Linked DNA regions of Homo sapiens: all the other regions are linked to region 4. Evidence: promoter capture Hi-C in 16 types of primary human blood cells and fetal thymus (Javierre and others, 2016). All regions are on one chromosome and are shown on one strand. The core of a region is centred on a gene start or on the middle of the fragment in contact, and the rest is flanking DNA. Distances in the headings are between cores, read along the strand shown.

Region 1 (3,766 bases), core at 36-2,535, 220 kb after region 4:
GCTCTGCCCAGGACCCTCTCTCAAGCACCTGTGGCATACCTTCATGTGCTCCACTGCACCCAGAGCTTAAGCCACAGTCCTGCTCAGGCTACACCTCCAAGGGTGGGACCAGGCCCACCTTATCTTCCTGTACTCCAGAGGCCCAAGTCAGCCATGCTGGTGTGGTCCAAGCTTCTGTGTGAACCCTGGCCCTTCCATCAGACAGCATTACCCTTTGTCCTCCTCTAGCCCCAAGCTCCCAGAAGCTTCTGCCAGGCACCTCAGAGCACCAGCTCCCCTGTCCCAGGGCCTAACCACAGATCCTGGAGTTCTGCAACCTCCAGACCAGAGCGGTCTCATGAACCACCTCCCCTTGAATATCACATACCACATTGTTATCAATTCATCAGTAAGGTCAGATGCTGTTTGCACACCTCCAGCAATAGGGTGCTCACTGCCTCTCACTTTCCAATGGCACAGATTACAAAAGTAAAGAACAACCACCACCAACATCGGTAACTCCCTGTATTCTCATTTTTCTGTTTAATCTCCACAACAGCCCTATGAGGGTGGCTCCCTTTGTTGTTTGCATTTTAAGGAACTGGGAGTGAGGCTCAGAGAAGTTGAGGGACCTGTCCCAGCATCACATGGCTGATGACAAGTGGACAGACCTGGTGTTTGAGCACAGGCCATTCACATTCTGACCCGTTGCCTGGTGCTGCCCCGACACTCTCCTCTCCTGGGCTTGGGCATTGCCCTCTGGCTCTGTGTGGAGCCTTTACGAGGCCACCTGCCTCTCTGAGGGATCTAAACAACTGGGAGGGAGGGGACCGCTCCCCCTTTCTCTGTGGGGGTGGACTAACACAATTAAAATGAACATCCTGCTTAAACTGAACCATTTAATTGGTATGTTAGTCCTGAAGATTCTGGAGTCTATTTAAAAAGCAGAAAAGAAGTCAGCGGTTTGTACATTCCCCCAGGAGGATTCGGGGAAGACGGGCATAGCCCGGGGAAGCTGCAGCCTCTTCCTGATTGAGAGATTTTTAGTTCCTAATCCCCAGCTCACTAATTATGATTATTTTCATTATTGTACATTTATTGAGCACCTCTCTATTGACAAGTTTCAGTCTGATTTTATTAGCCCATCAGTGGGGAAAGGGATTGAGGCCAGGGTGGTGGGCAGAGTCCCAGGCTGGGAGGCAGGGATAGATACCTTGGCTCCATTCCTAGACCCCTCACTGTGCCTCCGCCCTGTTGTGCAGAGTAGACCTCAGGCCAGAGTCTGTGCTGGGGTCAGGACAGCTTCCAGATTTAAAAACAAGTAGGTGATACATATGTTAAATAACTTAATTTAGCTATTCCACAATGTATATGTGTATCAAAACATCATGTTATATACCACAAATATATGCAGTTTCACTTGTCGGTAATATTTTTTAAGGCCAACTTCTTCTATTAGTTTGTCAAAGACGTAGGCCCTGCTCTCAAAGTTTTAGGTTGAATCAAAGAAAAAGGAAACCTGTAAGAAACTAAATTCTGGTGTTACATTGAGGCCTAGCATAATTGGTTCTAGAAGGAGCTCCAGTCTGGTGCCTGGAGAACTAACTTCTAATCCTGGCTCTGGCACCAGTTTGCTGGTTGCCCTGGGTGAGGCCACTTGCCTTCTCTGAGCCTCATTCATCTCAATCTCTGGGATGAGACTTCCTGGGTTGGTGGGGTGGACCTTGAGGCTCCAGGCCACATCCCCAGAGAGTAGAATTTCTCAGTCCCCTGGAGTGGGGCTGGCCTAGATCTGTTAAGCAGCCTCAGGCAATTCTGAGAGAGGTTCTTGGAGTGTTTGTTGCCTTTGTGGTCATGTCCCTTGCCAGGGTCCGCAGCCTAGGCCATCAGCCCCCTCTCCCCACTCTGTGACTTGCTGGAATGAAGGCACAGTTAGAATGAGCTCAGCTTTGACAGGATGGGGTGAGCACTGTCCAGAAAGCCCCTAGGTTTGGTTCTGCAGGCATCAGACCTACAGGTAGGAGGGGTATCCCAGGGTTCCCTCTGGGTCCTTACTGCCCAGCACCTATAGGGAGGTACAACCAAATGTTCAGGCCAGTGCTGGTTTTGCTGCTTCACTCCCATCAGTTTTTTTTCTAACTGACCCCAGAACTACATTCCTGTGTATACTGTGCTTTCCAGTTTCCACAGTGCATTGGAACCCCTCCAGTGAATGAGCCCAGGCTGGGATAACTACTAGCCGTTTCATTAAACGGGAAACTGAGGATCAGAAAGTTGAGGGGCTTGACCACACAGTGAAGTCATGAGAGAGGCGTAATGAGAAGCAGGTCTTCTCCTATACCCTGGGCAAGCTTCACTGCCCACCTTTATGAACTCTACAGGCTAATGCCCCGCCCCAACCCCCCACAGCCAAGCCCCCTGCACCACCTCCCTCCTACGGCCCAGAGGCCCAGTGGGGTGGCGTGGGCAGGTGGAACTAACAGGAGGCTTTTGCTGCTGAGCTGCTTTTAACATCCCAAGACGCTATTGTTTGCCTCAGTGGGTTCGTTGCTTCTCTTCGTCCCCGACAATCTGTTCCTGTCTTCACATATATATAGATCCCCCCTCCCTCAACTGTAAGCCTTCTCCCACTTTCCATCCTTCTCTTTTTTATATCGTGGGAAGGAAGGCTCTGGAAGTGGCAGATCGGAGCAGCCGCGGGGGAGGCTATTTGGCAGGGGTAGGAAAGGCCTAAGCCCAGAGAAGCTTCCACCCTCAGGCAGGCACCTTTCTGTTTTACTTTTTACTTTATGCCTCTCCACAGCACCTTAGCACCCTGAGGAGCCAGGTGTGCTAAGTCAGGCTCAGGGGGTAAACAGGATGGTGAAACAGAGACCAGTCTGGACCTGATTCCACTCCTCTCTTAGCCTCAGGCAGCTCCCTCTTCCTGCCCTCCAGCTCTTCACTGGCCAGAGAGGGAGCAGAGCTCAAACCAGATCTGACATTTGGGGAATGGAAAGTAGACCTGACCAGCTCCCTGGCTCACAACCATGTGTGTTCTCGTTAGCTGGAGGTTCAGGAAGGAAATGGGCCTGGAGATGCCCTCGTGTGCGGTGAACATGTTCAGGGATGGTGCAGTTCAAAACCAGACTGGCCTGCAGAATACCAGGGAGCTGCTGTTGCTTGTTTGCTTTTTCTTTTATTGTTTCCTTGGAAAATTTAAAGCATACCCAAAGATAGATAATGTAAAGAACCCCCACGTACCATCCCCAGCCTCAACAGTTAGGAACTCCTGAGCAGGCTCGTTTCACGCAAACCCTCCACTCAGTTCCCCAACGCCCCTGGATTACTTTGCAGCCAGTCTCAGACATGTCAGCTCATCCACCAGGATTTCAGTATGCAGCTCTCAGTTATAAGGACCTTTTTAAGCACAACTACGATACAGTGTCACACCTAATAAGTTGATCTACCCAGTCAGTGTCCCTATTTCCCTGATTGTCTCATGGAGTTCAGTTAAAGGCCACGTACGGCATTGAGTTATTAATCCTCTAAGTCTTAATCTGTTGGTTCTCACCCACTCACCCAACCCTTGTTTCTCTTGTGCATTTTTTTGTTGAAGAAACTGAATTGGTATAGCTGGGGAGTTTCATCCTGGGCCATGTATCAGGAGGGCTGCATCAGAACCTCTGGGGTTGGGGCAACTAGACTGTAAATACCTCCCCAGGTGAATTGCATATTCCAACCAGGCAGCCTTGGAAAACTGCTTAGACCACTCCCTGCATTCAGCAAGTAACTGTTTCTGAAGCCA
Region 2 (3,694 bases), core at 264-2,763, 160 kb before region 4:
AAACAAAGCATTAATAAAATTACAAAATTAGAAATAAGGCTGGGCGTGATGGCTCATGCCTGTAATCCCAGCAGTTTGGAAGGCTGAGACGGGTGGATCACCTGAGGTCAGGAGTTCGAGACCAGCCTGACCAACGTGGAGAAACCCCGTCTCTACTAAAAATACAAAATTAGCCGGGCGTGGTGGCGCACACCTGTAATCCCAGCTGCTTGGGAGGCTGAGGCAAGAGAATCACTTGAATCTGGGAGGCGGAGGTTGCGGTGAGCCAAGATTGTGCCATTGCACTACAGCTTGGCCAACAAGAACGAAACTCCTCTCAAAAAAAAAAAAAAAAGAAAAGAAAAAGAAAAAAAACACACAAAAAGAAATAATACCAATTATATCTGTACAGAATATCCAAATTGTAGCTCTAACTTCACTCTTGACTGTGAATACCTCAAACTTGTGAAACTACCAGCATTGGTCATTTTGATTGGTCTGCTTGCTTCCCTCTCTCATCCTTGGGGAGGTGCCATTGACCAGGTTGGTGACCAAAGGCTGCGTAGAGGAGCACGGAGTGTGAGTGATAACCAGCCCCTTGAGGAAGCTTTCCCTGAGAGTGGAATGACAGGACAGGACACCTGTATCTATCTTTGCTTTAAAATCATTCCTGCACAAAAAGCGATCTTTAGGAAAGCCAGTCAAATGAGCCTTTGCTTCCAGGTTTCTGAAGGGGAAACAGCCACTTGCTATCTTTACCATTCATTTTCCCCTCCTCCCTTGGAGCCCCTTATCTTCCTGGGTAGTTACTCCTGACTGTAATATAGTGGCTCTAATGTAGTAACTTTAATATGGTAGCTTATATAAGCATTTCTCCTATACCATGAGTTTTTATATTACAAATTGAATGTAATATAATTTGTGTTGTACTGACAGCTATCAGTTATAATCAGGAATAAGATTATAACTTATTATAACACCATCTGAGGATGTTATTTAAATGTTTGTTTGCTTGACTTTCAGTCCCTATTTAGATAAATGCTTAGAAATGAGAAGCTAGGTTTTATCAACCTCTTGACTACCCATATCTTAGCATAGTAGTACTTACTGGTTGAATGAAGTCCTGGGTCGAGGGATGGGGAGTGGGAAGTGGAGGGATTTCTGCCAGCATTGCCATTACTGGGAAAGCCTGAAGAAGTCATTGCTTCCTCAGGTCTGCTTACCTTCTGTACTATTACGACATCTACCTGAAAGTGCAGCAGGAGCTCCCCCACCTCCCTCAGTCTGAGATCAATAAGAAGATTAGTGAGAGTTGGAGGCTTCTCAGCGTGGCCGAGAGGAGTTACTACTTGGAGAAAGCCAAACTAGAGAAGGAAGGTTTGGATCCTGTAAGTAATTTTTTTTTCCAGCTATTTTTTCCACTGGTTCAGTGATGAAGGCCTTGGGAAAACCAAGCCCCTTGTTCTGTTTCCTTTTCTTTTTTTGGGAAAAGTTTCATCGTTTTATCCTTCTTGACTCTGGGCTTGCTTGTTTCCATTTTGATAATGCCCTGCACTCTCTTGTCCTCTTCGGTTGCAGCAATACGTGGAGCTGACATTTTTTTGTGTTTTCTGCAGTGAGCCTTAGGTTCCTTTTCTAAATTTTAGTGTAACTTGGAGCCCCTCATAGTTACTATAAATAGTAGCTTTAATGTAGTAAACTTTAATATAGTAGTTTATATAGGCATTTCTCCTACGCCATGAGTTTTCATATTACAGATTGAATGTAGTATATTGTACTAACTGCTATCAGTTATAATCAGGAATAAGGTTTGCATGTTTAGAGGTAGATAGAGCTGCTTGTGTAATACAGTACCACATTATTTTGTTAGCACTGGTGGTTGGAAACTATGCTGAAAGCAAAAATGCAAGTAAAGCCAAAGATGGTGGAGGAGACCAAGGCTTTGGGTGCTTGGGTTAAAGGACTAACAAGGAAGCATTTAGAATTATGTCTGTCAGCATTTTCTTATTTCTAGTTCACAGTAACAAAATACACTGACAGCTATTTAAACTGCTGGGTTTTTGTTTTTTTGAGAGTATCCCTGTCATGGCATAAACTGCTGTTTTTTTAAACTGAAATTCCTGCAGGAAGAATAACCTTGCTGTTGCAGGCTGGAACCTTTTATCCTTAACTCCTTATTTCAATAGAAACAGTTGTCTGTAACTTCTATTTTGGTAATGTAGAGCAACAGCAACAACTACGTTATAGCAGAACAGGTTGTATTTTCCCTTATTGGAGCTCATCAGCTACTGCCATTTAAATTATTTTGTGCTTATTGGCCTGGCATTCTTCTTTCTGGGAGAGCTTTGTCTTACCTACAGGCTTGGAGATGCTACTCTCTGCTCCCTCCTCTAGGTGATTTGTTTATTAACAGTGAATCTGGGAAATAATCCCTATAGTGGAGTGGAGATGGAGTCTAAGAAAAGCTTATCTACTCCCTTTGGTTTCCTTATTATAATAAAATCAGCTGTCTAGGCTGGGTGTGGTAGCTCATGCCCGTAATCCCAGCACTTTAGGAGGCTGAGGTGGGAGGATCACTTGAGCCCAGGAGTTTAAGACTAGCCTGGGCAAGTTGGCGAAACTCTATCTCTACAAAAAATAGGAAAAGATTAGCCAGGCGTGGTGGCATACACCTGTAGTCCCAGCCACTCAGGAAGCTGATGTGGGAGGATCACTTGAGCCGGGGAAGTGGAGGTTGCAGTGAGCCGTGATTGTGCCACTGCACTCTAGCCTGGGCAACAGAGTGAGACTCTGTTTCACACACACACACACACACACACACACACACACACACACACACAAATCAGCAATCTTTTTGTGCATGATAAAATCCTACGTAATCCTGGAGTGATTTGATTTTTAAAACTACACACTAATGTAGATCATTATCAAGACTTTAAAAAAATTTAAATCATCTGCAATGATTCTTCCTTATTTACATGCTTATTTCTATCTACCACTATCTCTACCACTGCCACCAAGAACATGAGTAGGTTAGTTCTGATAATAGCTGAGTGACCATTTTAACTTTTGAGTCTTGGTTTCCTCATCTGTAAAATGGCAGTAGTCTCTTCTCATAATGTTTAAAATAGGTAATGTAAATCACCTAGCTGAATTCTTGATAATACTGACATAATAAATATTACCCTTTAGTAGATTAAACATTCATTGACTATATAATAAGGAAAAGTGGCATTTATTGAGTACCTGGAATGTAGTAAGACTGAGTGAAGCTTTATGTGCTGTGTTTGACCTCTCCCAGACTGCCTGGTGTGATGGGAAGACCCTCAATGCCCACATACCTTGGGAGCCTGTCAGAGCCCTGTGGCAGGCTGTCCTCCTTAGCAGCCCTTCAGGTCTCTTGCCAAGTGCAGGCTCCAGTGATATGCCTTCTAGTCTATAAAATGAGTATCATTCAGGCCTTCCAGGTTTCTTTGTGCTTGGATTTGTTAAGTCCAGGCCATGCTGTGTGTATTTGCCACCATTTAGTCTTGTTCTCCTAACATGGCTGCTTCAAAGGGTGGCTTGAGAATGCCATTTCCCCATTACCTCTCCAATAAAGGCTCCATAAAAGATTCAGTCCATCTGCTTTTATGTTTCATCTGAGTGCTGCTTTTAACTTTTCATTTCTGAGTGCTTCCTTTATGCCTTAAGTAGTCTCATCGACTTCTTGCTT
Region 3 (3,868 bases), core at 86-2,585, 170 kb after region 4:
ATGGTAAAGGAACCTAAACTATCACCTCTCAGGCCACACGAATATTGTCCAGAGAGTCCATTTGGTTTCTTCTCTTCTGAGCTAGGAAGAGCTTTGCATTATTGCAAAAGCAGTCCCTCAGATTCAGGCCTGGGGCTTCCCTCTCATGGTCTTCCCCGGATAAGAAGAGGCAGACTAAAACCCCACAAGCCTATCACCTGGAGATTGTTAGAGATGTCAGTGGTTCTGGAGCTGCCAACAGGACTCAGCTGGACAGAAATACACTTTCTTTAGTGCAGGTCTGGTGACAGCTGGGCCTGCAAGTGATGCTTTTGCTTGTGGGGCAGAGAGAGCAGACACAGCTCTGGGGGTGCTGGCCTCCAGAGCCGGGAGTGGGGGTCTACAGGAAAAGCCTGTTGGAAGAGCTCAGCATACCCCGGGAGGGTCAAGGCTGGACTCATCCTCTCTGGGGCTGGCTGCAGAGCCAGGGTGGTATCAGGCCAGGCCTTGACATGTGGGCAGGAGGACCCAGGTTCTAATCCCACCTGCTGCTGGCCCACTGTGTGACCTTGAGCAAGGCCCTTTTCCTCTGCAGGGCAACATCCTCTCTGTACAATCGGTGCACATACTGGCTCTGACTATCTCTGCAAGGAGTAGGGGTATAAGAATGCTTGCTGGCTCACAACTCTATCTTCAGCACGTGGTTTCACTCAAATAAATGGCTGCTGCTATTATCATTATAACAATAATTATTATTTGGTCTTCACGATTCTTTGAGAAAGGGTGAGATGAGCAACAATTTTCTCATTGACAGGGGCAACATATAGAAACGTTTTCATACACAGAAGTAGTCCGTATATTTGATAACAATATTTCTTTTTCCTTCCTGCCAGGCGCCTTAGTGCCTGAGGGCAGCATCAGTCCTTGGCCTGGGCTCAGCTTCTGAAGCTGGCCTGATGACTTCTCTGTGATAGTGACATCGGCCTCACATTGAAGACAGCCTTTCTTTGTCTGACTCCAGAACAATATATGAAAAACCAGGGCTGCCTTTCCCCTGCTCCCTTCACCCCACACAGAGTCCCATCTCCAGGCCTTTGCTGTTGCTCTTGCTCTTGCCTTCCCCTACGATGTCCTCCTCTCTCCCTATGGCTTGATCCAGCCCTCAGAACCAACCTCCAAAACCCAGGTAATAGTAATAGTCCTGGCTCGGCCCCAGATTCTCTGATTGGCTGCTCTGGACCTCAGTTTCCCCATACAAAATAAAGGGATTGAACTGCATGACCTCCAAGCTCCTTCCAGTCGTGGCATTGGGAATGACATATGCAGTAGTGCCCACCATGAAAAGGAAATGACCCTGACTGCTTAGAGTCAACTGCTCAATGAAGACCCTGTCAAACTTGGAATCAGGAGAATGGGGACAATCAGCTCCATGACCCATGTGTATAGCCTTTATCCCATAAACTGTAGGCAACCAGAGGACAGAGGCCATGTGTGATTTACTAACCCTCACATCTGCAGGGTGGTCAATGCATAAAATTTGCTCAACAAATAATGATCAAATAAATATATGTATGCTTGAACTGTATGATAAGCATTCTTATTAGAAAACTGAAGTTGAAGTCAAATGCAATCAAGTTAACGCTCCTTGATTTTAAACTCCAAGGAGAGAAGCCCCCTCTTTCTTTTCCTCCAGGCTCAAACTGCAGCATTAGCCTGAGCTTGGGGCTGGGGGCAGAGAGGAGAACAAGGCTCTATTAACTTATTTTAGTTATCTAGAGAAAACTCACTTTTTTTTTTTTTGAGACAGAGTCTTGCTCTGTTGCCCAGGCTGGCAGGCAGTGGTACAATCTCAGCTCACTGCAATCTTCACCTTCCGGGTTCAAGCAATTCTCGTGCCTTAGCCTCCCAAGTAGCTGGGATTACAAGCACATACCACCAAACCTGGCTAATTTTTATATTTTTAGTAGAGATGGGGTTTTGCCATTTTGGCCAGGCTGTTCTCGAACTCCTGACCTCACGTGATCTGCCTGCCTTGGCTTCCCAAAGTGCTGGGATTACAGGCATGAGCCATCGCGCCCAGCCAAAAACTTCAAAGCTATGGGCATATTCAGGCTTTTTAATAGCTTTTCACCCTGCCTAGTATTCAATCATTGATTCCACAAACACTTCTTTTTTTTAACTTTTATTTTAGTTTTGGGGCTACATGTGGCTGTTTGTTACATGGGTAAACTTGTGTCATGGGAGTTTGTTGTAGAGATTATTTCGTCACCCAGGTATTAAGCTCAGTACCCAATAGTTAACTTTTCTACTTGAGAATATCTGTGTAGCTGGGGCTACAAAGAGTGTGAAGGACAGGCATGGAATTTGAGGAATCCGAATACTTGGTTTCCAGCCCCAGCTCTGATAGGAACTCTCTGTGTGATCTTGGGCAAATCACTTCTCTCCTCTAGGCTTTAGCATCCTCATCTGCAAAATGGAGTGTTGGACTTGTTAATATCTAAGGATGTTTCCTTTCTTATTATCTATGATCAACATCTTAACCTGTGAGCTACAGATTCCCAGAGCAGAGGGACTAGAATTTTTTTAAGAGGTCTGGGAAGTAGTCTATGCATCAACCATTATCTGTAAATAATATACAAAATTACGATTCCTTTTGTGTATGTTGGAGACAGGAGGTTAATCAACTTTGCATAAGGGCCTCACACTTGAAAGGGCAGAAGCTCTGGTGTGAATGGCACTGGCTATCATCCTGACTTGGACAGAGCTTACAGCCTAGCAAAGATATAACCCAAGCAACTTGAATACGATGAGAGAAACAGATGTGGGTCCTGAAAGTTCAGAGGCAGGAGAGACCAGTAAAAGGCAAGAAAGTTCTCTTAGAAGTCATAGACCCCACTGAGAAATTGAGACAATTATTGGCCTCCCCCCACTCCTACCATACCAAATGCACCAAATCTTACATACAATTGCCAGGTGATCACAGGCCTTCAAGTTCATCTCACAGAACTCATCACAGTTCTTAATCAAGGTTAAGAACTATTGATTTAGATAAACCTGTAAGCAGAAGTCGGGCAAGTCTGGAGCAAATCCCTAACTTGAATTCTTGAACCAGGGCACCATACAAGCTTGTAGGAGAGGCTAGAGACACTTTGGGATCGATGGCCCCAGGACCTGAGAGGTCTTGATCAGAGAGAAGGGGTCACGGGGAAGCTTGGGTGAAATAAGCCATGAGCCACCTTCTCTGTCTCTTCTGCTAGACGAAGCAATTTTTTATGCTGTTTCAGAAGGCTAAACTCATAAGCTTCAAAACATAAACAAGCAGAGCCTCTTAAATCACTGGGGAATTGTTTATGAATTAAATCATCTCTTCATAACAAACAGAGACCAGGCTGAGAATCCACAACCTCCATGATTAGATGTAGACAGGCAAGGAATCAAGAAGGGCCCCTGTGGGGATGAGACCTCATCCGAGATGGTCCCATTCAGAGGCAAGGCCAATGGCTAGAAAACCCTGCCTCTGTTCTCATGAGTGAGTTCCTTGGGGTGGTAGAAACCTGATGGACATGTAACAAGATTTAAAAGGTGAAAATATGCTTTTGATCCTGAAGTGGTAATCATTTTAAAGGCCACGGCCAACACCACCAGCATTACAATTACACTCAGCAGTCTCGTGGCAAAGGACAAAGGACGCAATGGCACAATGTAGTTTGATTGAGCCAAGGACATAGACCCCCTGAGTGACTGTGGGCGCAGGATGACTCCCGAGTGAGAGCTTCTCCCACTTTAATGTATATCTGAGTCACCCAGCATCCTGTTACTATTTGGATTCTGATTCAATAGGACTCGGATGCAGCTGAGATCCTGCATGAACAAGTGCCCAGGTGATGCC
Region 4 (3,872 bases), core at 220-2,719:
CCCGGCTAATATGGTGACCCAAGAGAGAGACGGGTTGAACAGATAAGACCCTGATTCTGACCTTCTTCTGGGGACCACACATCCCTGCACAATGAGAGGAACCCAGGAAATGTGGGCCCATCCAATCCCACAGGGTGCTTCTGCACAGCTCCCTGGCACAAAGCCCTTGTGCGGAGGGACCCCATCTGACTTCCTGACCCAGAGCCCTGTCCTTCATGCACCCTTCCCCAAATCCCTCAGCCTTGTCCCCACTCCCAGTTCACTGACACCCCCTCAAGTGTTCCCAGCCCCCACTCCCCCTTAGGTAGCTATGAAATGTTTGCCAGTCCTTCATATGGAGTGGAGGAACACGTGATGCATTTAAAATCCCAAGGGGGCTCCAGCCATAATAAATGGATCAGGGCTTTTGGATCCCGATTCACACAAACAGACTGCTAAAAAGACATTTTTGAATCAATTGGAGTACTTTGAATACGAACTGTGTGTTAGGTAATACCCAGGAATTTGTGTTAATTTTGCTAGATGTGATAATGGCATATTATGTAAGAAAATGTCCATGTGTTTTAGAGATGCGTGCTGAAGTATGTAGGGGTAAAATGACATGATGTCTGGAATTTGTTTTAAAATACTTCAGAAAAGCGGGGAGTAGGTGAAATAAGTGTGACAAAACCTTAATAGTTGTTGAAGCGGGGTGATGGGTACACAGCAGTTCATTATACAATTCTACTTTTGTGTATGCTTGAAACCTCTCAATTAAAAAAAGAGGGTAGAGAGTCATCAAGATAATTTACTAAAAGTTTCCTGTAATGTCCCCAGAAGACCCCCCTAACTCACACACACACACACCCACACACACACTGCCTTTTGAGAACTTTCTCTAGAAGGCCAACCCAGGCAGTCCCCCAACTGTAAGGAAGACTCGTGTATGTATGTGCATATGTGCATTTCCCCAGGGAAAAACATCCACAGCTTCCATGACGAGAGGGGTCGTGACCCCTCCCCGCCAAAAGATTAAGGACCTGCGATCCTACAGACCGGAGCCCTGTTTGAAGTCTGCGTTGCCCCTCACCTCAAGCTGGTCACTGTGTGAAGTTGGCCTAGAATCCCCCGGCCCCTGGGAGCTTGTTCCTCCGCCTGTAAAATGGGGCTGCAGGGCCGTCCACGCGGCCACCGGAAGGACAAGGTGTTCAGGCCGCTAGGCCGCTCCCTGGCAAGCGATTCCCACTCGCAGCGCGGCCTCGACCCTCGCCCAAGACGCGCCCTCCGCGCCCCCACCCCCTCCAGGCCCTGGCCAGTCCACCTCCCGCTTGGGGCGGCAATTTGTCTCCTTTTGAACCCCCCGCCCCCGACGGGTTTCCCCCTTTGATTCGCGGCCCGGAGGCTTCCCCCCGCTTTGAAATGCAAACCCGCCTCGGCTGGGGCCGCGGGCGGCCCGGAGCTATAAAAGGCCTGGGTGGGGCGGGCGCGGCGGCAGGACAGCCGAGTTCAGGTGAGCGGTTGCTCGTCGTCGGGGCGGCCGGCAGCGGCGGCTCCAGGGCCCAGCATGCGCGGGGGACCCCGCGGCCACCATGTATGTGGGCTATGTGCTGGACAAGGATTCGCCCGTGTACCCCGGCCCAGCCAGGCCAGCCAGCCTCGGCCTGGGCCCGCAAGCCTACGGCCCCCCGGCCCCGCCCCCGGCGCCCCCGCAGTACCCCGACTTCTCCAGCTACTCTCACGTGGAGCCGGCCCCCGCGCCCCCGACGGCCTGGGGGGCGCCCTTCCCTGCGCCCAAGGACGACTGGGCCGCCGCCTACGGCCCGGGCCCCGCGGCCCCTGCCGCCAGCCCAGCTTCGCTGGCATTCGGGCCCCCTCCAGACTTTAGCCCGGTGCCGGCGCCCCCTGGGCCCGGCCCGGGCCTCCTGGCGCAGCCCCTCGGGGGCCCGGGCACACCGTCCTCGCCCGGAGCGCAGAGGCCGACGCCCTACGAGTGGATGCGGCGCAGCGTGGCGGCCGGAGGCGGCGGTGGCAGCGGTAAGGACCCTTCCCTCGCCCTGCGCCTCTGGACCTGCAGGTGCTCGGGCGCGGCCCAGGCCGCCCCCTGTCTGACCTCTGCTCCGGCCCTGCTCGGGTTCCCGGGAGTGTGGCCCTCCTGTCCACTCTCGCCCTGGGGGGCTGCTCTTTGGCTCCCTCTCCTCAGTCTCAGGCTATCGGAGCCTTCAGCAGCACAGCCTAACCCTCTCTCTGTACAGATAGGGAAACCGAGACCCCCTGCGAAGTGCGGAAATGCGCCTGCGGCCGCGGAGCAAGACCCGAACTAGAACGCAGGCTCCCAGACTCGTGTCCCACACTCATTTAGCAACACCGACTCCGTGCTCTTCATCTGCTTCTTCCACTCCTAACCCAGCCCTAGGCAAAGGCGGCAGGTTCGCCCCAGAAGGGACGATTAACTAACTGTGTGAACAGGGCAGGTGACTTTCCTGGCCAGGGCTGGGTCTCCCCATCACACAGTCAAGACATTGCTGGGTCATATCCTTCAGGCTGAAAAAGAGCCCTCTTTGGCCAGACTGGGGCAAGGGGTCTGTACCTTACCTTCTCAGGGTCCTCCCTGAACTCTTGACCCCGGGGGAGGGGAAGCGGGAGCAGTGGGAAGGGGGGCTACTGTTTGGCTCCTGAGCCTGTGAACCTCCTGCCCCCAGGCAGGCCTCTCTGATCCGCCCTCTTCAAAGGCAGGGTAGGGGGCAGGACAAAGGGCCCAACTTTAATGAGGGGCGGCTTGACCTCCGTTATGGGTCCCCCCTTTGTCATGCAACTGGCTCTGCCTTGGCTCGGTAGTGACTCCTGTTGGCCGGAAAGTGAACACGACGTTCCATTGTCCGGACTGTGTCCGGCCTGTCCTGACAAAGGCCACCTAGCCTTGGGGGCGGGAAGCTGGCCTGCCCACCCTTTGATGTCCAGCCCCTCCTCCCCTTACCCCAGCTGCGAATAATCCTGGGACTTCTCCCACCTCCTCGCACTCTTCACCCCCATCTCCCCACACACACCCAGCTTGCCTCGGGGCAGATGCTGGGTTGGCCTTGATCAGGAGCTACGGGTTCTGGCCATAATCATATCCCCTTTTTGGAAGTCCCGGGGATACATAACCTCCTATCTGCCTCCAGGGAGATGCAGGGAACCAGACTCTGCCACTTGCTTCTGTGGCCTTGATTAAATAACAGCTAATGTTTTGGAACACTTAACTAACGGACCAGGCATGACCTAAGTAAGATCTTGCATGCATTAACTCCTTTAACTCTTAAAACATCATCGTAGGTACTATTATCACCCCCATTTTAAGATGAAGAAACTATGGCATAGAGAGTTTAAGTACTTGCCCAAGGCCATATAACCTGTAACTAGTGGGGCTGGGATTTGAACCCAGGTGGACTAACCACTAAGTCTGTGCTCTAATTCTCTACACAACAGCTCCTCTTAAATCAGTCATCTTTTCTGGGTTTCAGTTCTACTGTCTGTGAAATTAGAGAGAAGGGAGATTATGCAGTGGTTTGTACCCTTGTTTAAGTTACAAAAGGACTCCTTTGAAAAATCTGCTGAAAGGTACAAATGTTGCATCATTGGGCAATTTCAGGGGTTCTGGAGGCTACCAGAAGCTTTATCCATAAATCCGGGGTTAAGAACCCTGTGTTCTATGAGAGGAGGTGGTGGCAGCACCAGTGCTCAGGATCCTGCAGTTCCCAGTCTGTGAGGCTCTGGAGAAGGAAGCCTGTGTTTCCTGCTCCTGTGTTCCACTTTCTGCTTCCTGCTCATGGGGTGACTTTGGAGATGAATGGGGAGGTTCCCTATGGGTAGGGACTTGGAGAGAGGCCATCACTGTGTAAGGGAAAAGGAGTGTG

The links. The method cuts DNA at HindIII sites, captures the fragments that hold promoters and counts their contacts. A CHiCAGO score of 5 or more calls a contact.
Region 1: a fragment that was not itself captured here is called in contact with the fragment with the promoter of CDX1 in region 4 in 1 of 17 cell types (endothelial precursors); the score reaches 5.6 in endothelial precursors.
Region 2: a contact is called between a fragment that was not itself captured here and the fragment with the promoter of CDX1 in region 4, in 1 of 17 cell types (megakaryocytes). The highest score is 5.1, in megakaryocytes.
Region 3: a contact is called between a fragment that was not itself captured here and the fragment with the promoter of CDX1 in region 4, in 4 of 17 cell types (megakaryocytes, endothelial precursors, M1 macrophages and 1 more). The highest score is 6.6, in megakaryocytes.

What each region holds. Positions count from the first base shown.
Region 1 is chr5:150,383,765-150,387,530 of GRCh38, forward strand. The region is part of intron 17 of TCOF1 (treacle ribosome biogenesis factor 1); the gene reads left to right. Among named protein-coding and RNA genes, the nearest start is that of CD74, 27 kb to the right of the region's middle. The HindIII fragment of the contact is 2,085 bases long and covers 244-2,328 here.
Region 2 is chr5:150,005,281-150,008,974 of GRCh38, forward strand. HMGXB3 (HMG-box containing 3) reads left to right here. Exons shown (of 20, transcript NM_014983.3): 3 at 1,193-1,367. Among named protein-coding and RNA genes, the nearest start is that of HMGXB3, 6.4 kb to the left of the region's middle. The HindIII fragment of the contact is 1,858 bases long and covers 585-2,442 here.
Region 3 is chr5:150,332,653-150,336,520 of GRCh38, forward strand. It overlaps LOC105378225 (a long non-coding RNA gene), which reads right to left. Exons shown (of 3, transcript XR_944406.2): 3 at 2,230-2,445. Among named protein-coding and RNA genes, the nearest start is that of TCOF1, 23 kb to the right of the region's middle. The HindIII fragment of the contact is 3,533 bases long and covers 1-3,102 here.
Region 4 is chr5:150,165,309-150,169,180 of GRCh38, forward strand. It overlaps CDX1 (caudal type homeobox 1), which reads left to right and starts at 1,470. Exons shown (of 3, transcript NM_001804.3): 1 at 1,470-2,013. The coding sequence starts at 1,569. The HindIII fragment of the contact is 7,821 bases long and covers 1-3,627 here.